Regions from separate parts of the Homo sapiens genome. Here all the other regions are linked to region 3. Evidence: promoter capture Hi-C in 16 types of primary human blood cells and fetal thymus (Javierre and others, 2016). All regions are on one chromosome and are shown on one strand. The core of a region is centred on a gene start or on the middle of the fragment in contact, and the rest is flanking DNA. Distances in the headings are between cores, read along the strand shown.

Evidence for each region. The method cuts DNA at HindIII sites, captures the fragments that hold promoters and counts their contacts. A CHiCAGO score of 5 or more calls a contact.
Region 1: a fragment that was not itself captured here is called in contact with the fragment with the promoter of IL6R in region 3 in 1 of 17 cell types (naive CD4 T cells); the score reaches 5.0 in naive CD4 T cells.
Region 2: a contact is called between a fragment that was not itself captured here and the fragment with the promoter of IL6R in region 3, in 1 of 17 cell types (naive CD4 T cells). The highest score is 6.3, in naive CD4 T cells.
Region 4: a fragment that was not itself captured here is called in contact with the fragment with the promoter of IL6R in region 3 in 1 of 17 cell types (non-activated CD4 T cells); the score reaches 5.1 in non-activated CD4 T cells.

Annotation. Positions count from the first base shown.
Region 1 is chr1:154,885,062-154,887,888 of GRCh38, forward strand. No RefSeq gene overlaps it. Among named protein-coding and RNA genes, the nearest start is that of KCNN3, 16 kb to the left of the region's middle. The HindIII fragment of the contact is 9,275 bases long and covers 1-2,827 here.
Region 2 is chr1:154,767,599-154,770,431 of GRCh38, forward strand. All of the region lies in intron 3 of KCNN3 (potassium calcium-activated channel subfamily N member 3), which reads right to left. Among named protein-coding and RNA genes, the nearest start is that of KCNN3, 100 kb to the right of the region's middle. The HindIII fragment of the contact is 1,234 bases long and covers 732-1,965 here.
Region 3 is chr1:154,403,992-154,406,691 of GRCh38, forward strand. IL6R (interleukin 6 receptor) reads left to right here and starts at 1,352. Exons shown (of 10, transcript NM_000565.4): 1 at 1,352-1,723. The coding sequence starts at 1,639. IL6R-AS1 (IL6R antisense RNA 1) reads right to left here and starts at 2,573. Exons shown (of 2, transcript NR_147855.1): 1 at 2,448-2,573. RefSeq lists silencers at 1,157-1,286, 1,487-1,636 and an enhancer at 1,876-2,482. The HindIII fragment of the contact is 4,036 bases long and covers 18-2,700 here.
Region 4 is chr1:154,785,029-154,787,728 of GRCh38, forward strand. The region is part of intron 2 of KCNN3 (potassium calcium-activated channel subfamily N member 3); the gene reads right to left. Among named protein-coding and RNA genes, the nearest start is that of KCNN3, 84 kb to the right of the region's middle. The HindIII fragment of the contact is 3,964 bases long and covers 1-2,700 here.

The DNA of each region.
Region 1 (2,827 bases), core at 167-2,666, 480 kb after region 3:
TGAACACACATGATGTTTAGTTAAACATGGGGTAAGAAAACAGCCAGGACACAAATGAGTTATTCTAATTTTGTGAGTTCAGACCTTTGAACTCAACTCCTCATTCTGGTCTCCTGGCTGGAATGAGGACAACAGTCTATAAACAATCCACATATTCTATCTTCCCTCATAGCACATGTAGGCATCTCTAAAAATAATTCCCAAAGTAGCTTAGGCTCCATTTCCCTCTATTTGTTGCCTAGAGAACTCTTATTCACCCCTCAAGGCCTTGTTCAAATGATCCTGCTTTAGGAGGCCTTCGCTGATCCCCAACATCCTCAAACAGGGTTAGCCATGCTGTATTCCCCTAATACTCTGTCGGGACCTCTGCTGAGGCCCTTCTCACATCACATTGTGATTATGTGTTTATGTTCTCCAGCATCTGGGACAATGCCAGGAACAAAGGAGGAACTCCATAAACACTCGTTGAATAAACGGTTGAGTAAATAAATAAGTCTGCCTCCCTGACAGGATTGTAAGCTGTTCAACTTGTATGGAATTAAGTTGAATCCCAGCACTTCAGAACAAAGGCGCACTTAGTGTCTACCTAGTTCAGCTCTCAATGATCAGTGTGTGGTTCATTACAAATACAAACAACTGAATCTAGCGCTCACCAAGCTCTTCTGACATCCCTGGAAATGCTTCTTTTTTTTTTTTTTTTTTTTTGAGACGGACTCTTGCTCTGTCGCCCAGGCTGGAGCACAATGGCACGATCTCGGCTCACTGCAACCTCTGCCTCCTGGGTTCAAGCGATTCTCCCACCTCAGCCTCCCAAGTAGCTGGGATTACAGGCATGCACCACCACGCCCAGCTAACATCCCTGGAAATACTTTTCTGACCTATGCCAATGTGTAAACATAGGAGAGTCTTAATGTATTTACTTTTCTGAATTTTCACGGTAAATGCTTGCTGATTATTAAAAGTTTGGGAAAAAATAGAAAACAATAAAGAAGCAGAAAGGTCACGTAAAATTCCTCTACCAAAGTAGGTATTGTTAAGATGTGGCATATTTCAGTCTTTTGCTATGCATTGTGTTTTCCTTATACAATTGAGATGACAATGTGTGTATATAGGTTTTAGAGCAGTTGTGCTGTAATTAGTGTGTACCTGATATTTTATGTTCTTGTTTCATTAAAGACAGTCTCATAGTGACAGTAAATCCCATCTCATTAACATATCAACATAACCCCACGTTTTTATTAGATAATGTCATGCTCCTCCCCCATCATATGTCTAGAATTTGCTTAGCCATTCACTCTTCTTAGGCAGTTGGGTGGTTTTCAGTTTTAGTTTCTGGCCATTTTAAGGATCATTGCTCTGAACTTCCAGGAAGTAGGTACATGTGGTTAGAGATAAAACTCCCAATAACATCATCATCCACAGACTCTCAAGTACTGCAGCTCAACCAGCTGAGATGGAAGTGAGGATAATGTGCTCCAGATCTTGCTAGCTGACTCCAGAGGTGGCTCTAGTGACAGTGGCACCCCTGTATCTGGATGTGCATAAAGCATGTGAGCTCAAGGAGGCTGGGACAGGCCTGTCTTGTTGCCCTTGGATTCCCCAAGCCCAGCACAGTGCCTGGCACATGACGAGTGAATGAACAAATGGTGCATGCTTGGACAGACGAATGCACTGTTATGCTCAGACACCTCAGCAGTGTGACTGGAGCCTCAGCCTTCTGTATGTTGTACTGTCTGGAACCCCAGGCCTCTGGGGAATTCTGGGAATGTTCCATGTTAGTGATAGGAAAGTGCTCTGAGCCTCTGGGCTAAAAGCACCGCCCTGCAGCCAGAGCATGCTCCCAGCTGAGCAGTAAATGTGAATGAACGGTGATGAGATGCTAAGGACAATGCTCCCCCAACTCCCAGTGCCCCCCTCCCACATGCCCACACATACCCACTTGCTGCCCACATGTGCCTCTCTCTGCTATCATCTGGGGTCACCTTCAGAGCGTCTATTTGGGCAGATAACCCACCAAGTTAGAAACAACATAATAGACACTTCACTTTGTCATCTGAGGAGCAGCACTACATGCTGGCCAACAAGACAGACCAGCAAGCCCAAGAGTGGCTTTCCAGTCATTTATTCCACAAACACTTCTTGGGCTTCTGCTGTGCCCAACCAGAGAATTAGAGATGAATAATATGTGTGTCCATCCTTGAGGAGTTCACCCTTATGTGCCAAATAGATTCGGCTGTGCCTCCAAAATCATCTCCTGGTCCAGCGTCTCCCCAGCTCAGGCAGATCCCCAGCATCCCCCAGAAGATGGGAGCCGTCCTTGGCACCCAATCCTGTGGACCCAGCCTTGAAGGTAGCTCTCAGCATCGCTTTCCTTCTCTCTCCACCTCCCTGTTCAGACTTAACCCAACACCTTCCTAACTGGTCCCACTCCCACCCCTCCAGCCCTCAAATCCATCTTCCACAGGGCAACAGAAAAGTCTTTTGAAAATGCAAATCTGGCCAGGCGCAGTGGTTCACGCCTCCAATCCCAGCACTTTGGGAGGCCAAGGTGGGCGGATCATTTGAGGTCAGGAGGTAGAGACCAGCCTGATCAACATGGTAAAACCTCGTCTCTACTGAAAATACAAAAATTAGCCAGGCGTGGTGACATGCACCTTTAATCCCAGCTACTGGGGTGGTTGAGGCAGGAGAATGGCTTGAACCCAGGAGGTGGAGATTGCAGTAAGCCGAGATTATACCACTGCACTCCAGCCTGGGCGACAGAGTTAGACTCTGTCAAAAAAAAAAAAAAAAAGCAAATCTGATCACATTGGTTCTCTGCTTAAAA
Region 2 (2,833 bases), core at 99-2,598, 360 kb after region 3:
GGGGCCTCAGATGGTCTCTCCACCAGTAAAGCTGCTTGGCACTTGACAGTGTAAAATCAGGAGGTTCCTCCCTGAGGGAGGTGGGCAGGCAGCCAGGAGAATCCCAGAGAATGCAGAGTGCCACAACTGTCAGGCCTCGGAACCCATGATGTAATGCCTCTCTGGGGGCCAAGGAAAACAAGCCCACTGTTGTCACTGCCCTCCCAGCAACCAGGCGCTGCCCTCCCCATGGCACGGCTGTTCTGCGTAATTATGATCCCACTTTCTCTCCTTGGGAGGAGGAAATATGAAAAACCTTTGTTGTCACATAAAAACCAACCCAAGATATGAGAACTGTCTTTTAAAATACATCTTGCTGTAGAGAGATTTCCATAGCAACTTCAGAAGTGTGTGTATACAACTAGAGATAAGTCCAGGCTGATGAAAGCTACCTGGAATGTGAACAGGCTCTGGGCATCAGCAGCTGTGGATTTTTCTAGAACCTGTCATGCTGCTGTGTGACCCTGGGCAAGTCACTTACCCTCTCTGATGCCTAAGGTGATAGAATCATCATTAGATCAGGCTGAGAGAGATCAAGGCATCCTGTCCACACTACCCTGGTCTGACGCTTCAGTTCCCCAAAGCTTCCCCTGCTTCCAGCTTCTGTCCAGTCTCTGGCTGAATAAGTCCTGGCTGAAGGCCTCTGCCAATCTTACTTATTATTTGACATTGGGAAACAGAATGATCATTTAAGCTTGATTCTAAAAATAGTGCTTAGTCTTGGTAAGAGAAGTGCTTTGCCTGTTTAGGAAACAATATATTAACGGGGCAGATTCCTGGGAAACAGTCTGTGAGATGCTGAGATTTGGGGGTGGGAGTTTTACTGGGGCTGCTCTCAGGATCAATACCTCTGGGGTATAGAGGAAGTTCCCGGATGCAGTGGTAACAGAGGCCTTAGGCGATCCCTCAGGGACCCTGGAGCCTGGCTGAGTGTCCTACTAGAAGCAAACGGGGTTAGGCCTTTGAACTCCCACACTGACAAATCCCCTCGGGAGCTTGCTGCCCCCAGGCAAGGGGTTTGACCTGAAGAGAGGGACTCAGTCACAACCCCAGCTAAGGGAAGGAGAGCCCGGGTCCTGGAGGGGGCATCTGTCCCCTTCATGTTGACATGAAGCAACATGTCATCCACTACATGGATGTGTTTGAATTGGACATGAAGGCAGCCCAGGAGGCTAGTATGATAACATGGTCAAGACCATAGGCAGCAGAGGCAGAGAAAACAGCAAGACTGGGATTCACATGTTAGTCTCAGTGGCCTTAAGACTCTGAGATTGGGAAAGTTGCCAGTAGAGTAGAGGCCAAGATTTCCTCGTATGTGCAGGATTCAGCCTGGGTTGGTGACACACACATGGAAGTTCAGAGTCAGAAACCAGTTCAGATTTTGGCTCCACGCTTATTATTAATAGCTCTGTGACCTCGGGCCAGTTACTTTCTATCAGTTTCCTCAACTCTCCCATGAGCCTTCATGTCCAATTCAAACACATCCATGTAGTGGATGACATGTTGCTTCACCCAAATGCCCCTCCAGGACCCGGGCTCTCCTTCCCTCAGGCAAGGTACCTCTCTCATAGATCTATTGTGAGGGCAAGCTGGGATGACATATGGATTTTACACAGAACTAGCACAGGGGTGCAACAATAACATCCACCATGCTTTAATACACCTCATGTTATACCTAAGTCTTTGGTCAAATGGCCTTTTCGCAAGAGAAGGGAACTTTCAGAGAATTTCCGATTTGCTCATTGTTCCTCTGTGCCTTGGTCTTAGCGGGGGCTTGTGACCCATGTCTGCAGAGAGAGAGAGAGAGACCCAGTGGCCCACCAGGGACCAAACTAACCCAGCCTCAGCTTGGAAGCTATGGAAGGCCATGCAATATCAAATAAGGTGCATCATCTAAGTACTTTGCAAACTACATTCTTTAAAACAAGCTTATTTTCCAGTGAAAAATAGTCACCCCTTCTTGTGATAGGTTCAATAAACTACGAAACTCACTTGCAGGTACTTTGTTGCATGTTCAGCCATCTGAAATACATGCCAGAGAGCATCTGAGGAAGTGAAAGACTTCAAATAGCTTAAAGGGCTACGCAAATTCAATTACTATGTTAATAGACAACATGGCTTCCATCATTTAGAAAGGAAAACAGGAAGAGTATAGGCCCATGTATGGTACAAGTTGGGCTGTTCTAATTAAAAGAAGGCAGCACAAAATTCCCAAGAGTTATCAAGGGATCTGCACTATTATTATTAACTTTCACCATCATTGGATTGCAGTACATAGTGCATATATACACCTTGTTTGACTCTAACAATAAATCCTGTGTCCAGCTTTCAGATAAGAAAATTGAGGTCCAGAGAGGTGAAGCGACCAGCACAATGTTGCTCAGCTAACAGTACCATGAAGAGTTTGGGGTCGGAACCCAAGCACATGCTTTCTCCATTGGGGGAAGAGTGTCTGCTTACCAGAGAAGGCTCATGAAGCCCTGTGCAGTGTGGTCCCACTCAGAGCAGATGTTGCAATGTCAGCTGCTGAGTAATGGCGAGGTTCTGAATAGGTGAGCATGGTGTGTCCCTGGGGCTCTGTGTGTGAGAAAGGTCTTCCAACACTGCACTGGCTCTCAGAACCTGAACCTGCATCCTGGAGCCTGAACCCTTGTTCTGCGGCAGCAGAATGCCCTCTCAGTTTGACCGTGTGTCTGTTGGCCAAAACGCTGAAAGAAATGTCTGCAAACAGAATGTCTCAAAAATAGGTAGGAGATACGATTCAAGGCACCCATGTAGGGTGTGTTGAGGCTAA
Region 3 (2,700 bases), core at 102-2,601:
GCAGTTGCTGGTCTAGAAGCTTCTCAGCCTAAACTTTATTTCAGCATTTTTCTTTCCCTCCAGATTCAGCTATGAGGCCATCCTATCAGCTTTAGGCTCTGTGGGGGTCCTTGAGAGAGTTCCCCTCCAAGGGACGGACAGATGGTCCCCTTCAAGGTCCTTGTGGTTGCTCAAAAGCCAGGTGCTTGTTTCTTTCTTTTTTTCTCTCCTTCCTTTCCTTCCTTCCCCTCTATCCCTCCTTCCCTCCCTCCCTCCCTCCTCCCTTCCTTTTCTTTCTTTCTTTTCTTTTTTTTTTTTTCTTTCCAGACAGGGTCTCACTGTCATCCAGGCTGGAGTAGCAGCCCCCAATCACGGCTCACTGTACCCTGGATCTCCCGGACTCAAGCAATTTTCCCACCTCAGCTTCCCTAGTAGCTGGGACTATAGGTGTGTACCACCACACCCAGCTAATTTTTAAATTTTTTTATAGAAATGGGGGTCTCACTTTGTTACACAGGCTGGTCTAGAATTCCTGGACTGAAGCAATCCACCCACCCGGCTCTCCCAAAGTGTTGGGGTTACAGGCGTGAGCCACTGCCCCTGGTGTTAGTGTCTGTCTGTCAAGTCAGGAGGGCAGCCATGAACGTTCTGATGTCTACTGAGCACGTGTGGCCCAGACCGTGTGTCAGGTGTTTAGGTGCCATCCACAGAACCTTCCTAATAACCCTGGGCAGCATAGGCTTTCTTATCTCTGACAGATGAGGAAATGGAGACTCAGATTCTGAACCGAAGTCACAGACACAGTAGATGGTAGGTCTAAATGGGGACCCAGGTCTATCTGACTGCAAAGTCCAAACCGTTTCCTTGCCTCTGCTGCAGCCTGCGAGGAGCAGCTGGGCAGAAAGACTGTGCCTTTACGGTGGTGAGTCTTCCGATGCCCAAGCCTCACCCCAGACCGATGAAATCAGAATCTCTGGAGACCCGACCCAGACATTGGTGGGTTTTAGGGCTCCTGGCTGATTCCAGTGGGCAACCGGGCTACCAAGCACTGTTTTACCCTAAGGGTAAGAGGAACATCGCCTCCTCGAGGGCTCTCCAGGTGTGCCTTTCACAGCGTAATCCCGTTCACGAAACCAAAAATCAAAACTAGGCCACTGCCCACTGGTGGCTGATACGCCCTTTTCTCATCAACAGAACCGGGAGGAAGGGCTCTGGTGGGGCTGGCGGTCCCCTGTTCTCCCCGCTCAGGTGCGGCGCTGTGGCAGGAAGCCACCCCCTCGGTCGGCCGGTGCGCGGGGCTGTTGCGCCATCCGCTCCGGCTTTCGTAACCGCACCCTGGGACGGCCCAGAGACGCTCCAGCGCGAGTTCCTCAAATGTTTTCCTGCGTTGCCAGGACCGTCCGCCGCTCTGAGTCATGTGCGAGTGGGAAGTCGCACTGACACTGAGCCGGGCCAGAGGGAGAGGAGCCGAGCGCGGCGCGGGGCCGAGGGACTCGCAGTGTGTGTAGAGAGCCGGGCTCCTGCGGATGGGGGCTGCCCCCGGGGCCTGAGCCCGCCTGCCCGCCCACCGCCCCGCCCCGCCCCTGCCACCCCTGCCGCCCGGTTCCCATTAGCCTGTCCGCCTCTGCGGGACCATGGAGTGGTAGCCGAGGAGGAAGCATGCTGGCCGTCGGCTGCGCGCTGCTGGCTGCCCTGCTGGCCGCGCCGGGAGCGGCGCTGGCCCCAAGGCGCTGCCCTGCGCAGGGTAAGGGCTTCGGGCGCACCTGGAGGGCTGGGGCAGCTAGCGGCTGGGGGAAACCGCCTTGGTCACCGCAGTCTGTGGGAGGCTGGAGGGAGGAAAGGAGGTGCGACGGATCCCCTTTTCTGTGGCTGCCTTGAGGCCCCGCGGGTACCTAGCTGTGTGGTCGCGGGTAGTGGCTCTTGCGCCCCCTGCTGCGCTTGCTCCCTTGGTCCGGAGCGCTCCCCGGAATGCCCGGTGAAGCTGTGCGGGAACCCTGCGGTCTGTGTACAGGACTGTGTCCTTGCAAACCTGACTCTCGAGCTTCCTTCCCAGTGCCCCCAGGAGCCTTTACACAACCGCGTCCCAGGTTACTCTAAGGGGAGACTGCCCGAGAGGGCGCGCCCCAGCGGGGTGATGTACCCGCCTGGGGAGTCCTTTGTACCAGCGCCCCTCTTCTCCCTCTGCATTGGGGGTCCACCTCGCCTGGTCCTCCCCCCACCCCCGCGGGTGCATGTGTGGATGACAGTGCCCTGACTATGAAGGGACTGACATCACGGGCGCTGAGTCACGGATCTTCCCGCTGCACGGAGTCACTTTGGCAGCCACCAACTCTGGGAAGCCAAGTGCCCCAGTCCTGGGAATTGAGTCGGGAGGCTGGCAAGGGAGTGAGACCTCCTGGGGCTGGCACGTGCTGGACTCCCCTCTAGAAAAGAGAAGGACCCGTGAGGGAGAGGGCAGAGGCACTTACTGCTCCCGTTGACTGTAATCTGCCCCTGGCAAACCAGGCTTTTCTTGGGCTCTGGCCGCATGCCCAGCTGCGTGTCTAGTCTCTCTTCTGGAAGAGTTGGGCAACTGGCTCTCCAGAGGTTTATTTTAGGGTCCCAGTGCTTCTTTGAGGACACAGCAGAAAACTAAGGGGCAGCTGACAGGCTTCTGGAACAGCTGACAGGCTGGGGAGGCTGAAGGCTAAGACTTTCAACCACTAGATCACACTGAATTCC
Region 4 (2,700 bases), core at 134-2,633, 380 kb after region 3:
AGGTGTTTCTGGTTCTTTGTGTGCCTTGGCAGATCCAGGAGTCAAAGGTTTCTGTGCATCTGCTAAGTCTGGGGTAAGAGGTATCGTTTTCTCAACAGGAAGTTTCTGATAAGTTTCTTTCCTTTTGACACATGAAAGGATCCTGCTGAATGTTTGGGGGTAGGGGAGGAACAGCATCATCACTGGGGCTGCTGGGCCCTGATTGGTTCTAAGTCACCTGTTTACCACTAAGGGAGAAATTCTTTAACCCTGGCTTAGGGGATATTTTTAGCAACTAAAAATAAATAGGTTTTTGGATCTTTGAACAGCCTAGGGAGCTGAAGAACTGAGGTCAGGACCAGGTGGTGGTGGTGGGCAGGGAGTGTTTGTTTTTTCCCCAACTGACTAAAAGGCCCTTCACCTCCTTCCCAAGGGCCAGCTGCACTGTCACCCCTTCAGGGGGAGCTTTTCCTGATCTCCCAGTGGCGGGGGCAGCACTTCAAACAGCAACAAGCCATTTGGTGAGTCCAACTTGTTGGCTGGGGCCTAAGCACTTTTCTTTTTCTTTTTTTTTTTTTTTTTTTTTTTTTTTGAGACAAGAGTCTCACTCTGTCTTCCAGGCTAGAGTACAGTGGCACGATTATGGCTCACTACAACCTCTGCCTCCTGGGTTCAAGCAATTATCCTGCCTCAGCCTCCCGAGTAGCTGGGATTAGTACCCAGCTACCACGAGTAGCTGTGCACCACCACACCCGGCTAATTTTTGTATTTTTAGTAGAGGTGGGGTTTTGCGATGTTGGCCAGGCTGGTCTCAAACTCCTAGCCTCATATGATCAGCCATCCTCGGCCTTCCAAAGTGCTGGGATTACAGGCATGAGCCACCACACCTGGCCTCCTAAGCACTTTTCTTTACATCAACTCTTTGAGTCTCACAATAGCCCCATAAGAAAAGTGAACATCCCCCAGACCTCATAGCAACTAAGTGGTGGAGACAGGATTTAAACCAAGAGGCCACACTCTCATCTATTAAGTTTCCATTCTGGCCGAAACCTCCTTCTTGATCGTCCATCTGAGCCGCATTCCTGTCCACCTGCTTGTCAGCACCCTCACTAAAGCAGGGGTCCTTGAGGACAGACATCTCCTTGGTCACTGTCCTCCACAGTGCCAGGCACAGCGCCCAGGGCCACCCAAATGAATACATAAAGGGTTTAAGGTGTCAAAACTATATCAATGTGACTGTAAAGAAATATTTTAATTGTTCACCATTTTTATAATCCTCCTAAGGCAAAAGAGTCTTTTGTAACATATGCACAAGATAGAAAAAGAAATCAAAGAATATTTTAAAAGAACTGCTTATTATAATTTTTTAAAAAACCCTGGAAACAACCTGAATACACATCAATAGGGAAACAGCTGAATATATTATGGTACTCATACTGGGGAACATTATGTAGCTGTTTTTAAAAATGAAGTGGATCTATATGTATTGACTTAGAAAATGTTCATGATATATTGCTAAGTAAAAAGAGAAACTTACAGCATAATGGGTATAGTGTGATTCCTCTTTTTTAAAAAAGCAAACACCAACACATAAAAACAAAAATGCCCATATATGTGTATGCATGTTGGTACATTTTTGTATAAGCACACACAAAAGGTGCATTAATCACCTCTGGCTAAACACTAAATTGTTAACACTGGTACTACTGGGGACGCAGGGAGATGGGAATCAGGGAACCTATTGATTTTTTTCCTTTTGATAATGAGAACACACCTCTGTGTTAAAAGAAGCCTATATTGCTTTTGTAATTTAAAAAAACCCAATAAAGTATTTTTTAAAAGAGCTGTCATGGAGAAAGCCACTTGTGGCGCCTAATGGTGATGTTTTAAGCATGGCCATTCTTGGAGGAAAAATAATTGCCCAGGTCCTTTCCTGCCCTGTAATTTTCTGTGTAGAGCTTCAAATCCCCTGGGAGCCCCCAGGATTTTATGAATACAGCCCTGCTAGAAGTGTTCATAGCTGAGCTCCTCTCACAAGTCTCCCCCTCCAAGGCCAGCCTCATTACCAGATCCACAGCCCCTCTAACTAAGCCACCTTGTGAAAAATACTTCCAGGGCATGAAGATTAAACAAGGCACTTATTTCAAGGCCACCTCTCCATGTGAATTCCTATCGTAGGCACTGAAAGCCGCGTTAGTCAGTGGCCCACTCCGCTCCCCCACTGAGGGCAGAGGCCTAGGCTCCCTGTGGGAAGTGGTGGCCCTCCCCACGGTTGAGAAAGGAAACCTGCTCCACCATTCCCTCCATTTGGGAGGGAGGGACCAGGGCCAGGGCCAGGGCCAGGGCCAGGGCATGCGGCAGCCACCATCACCACAGCGACTGCTGCTGGTGAGAGGTCACTGCGGATCTGGCCTCAGCGTGCCAGGTACAATGCCAAGACCCGTGGGGTACAGCGGAGATCAGGATGCAAGTTCCTGATGAACCAGGAGCTTAGAACTGCGTGTCTGCTAGAGATGCGCAGAAGCAAACAAAGATATGGCTATGGAGAGGGCCAGTTTGGTGACTGGGGGCACTATTTGCAATTCGGGGTCTGTGCTGCTGTGTGTTCAATGCCCACAGGTACTGCCCTGGATCCAGACACCTGGAGCTCTGGCTCTGGGTCCCCCACACTAGAGGGCCCTGCTTGACCCCTCCTTAAGTCACACCACACCCCGTGGAGTC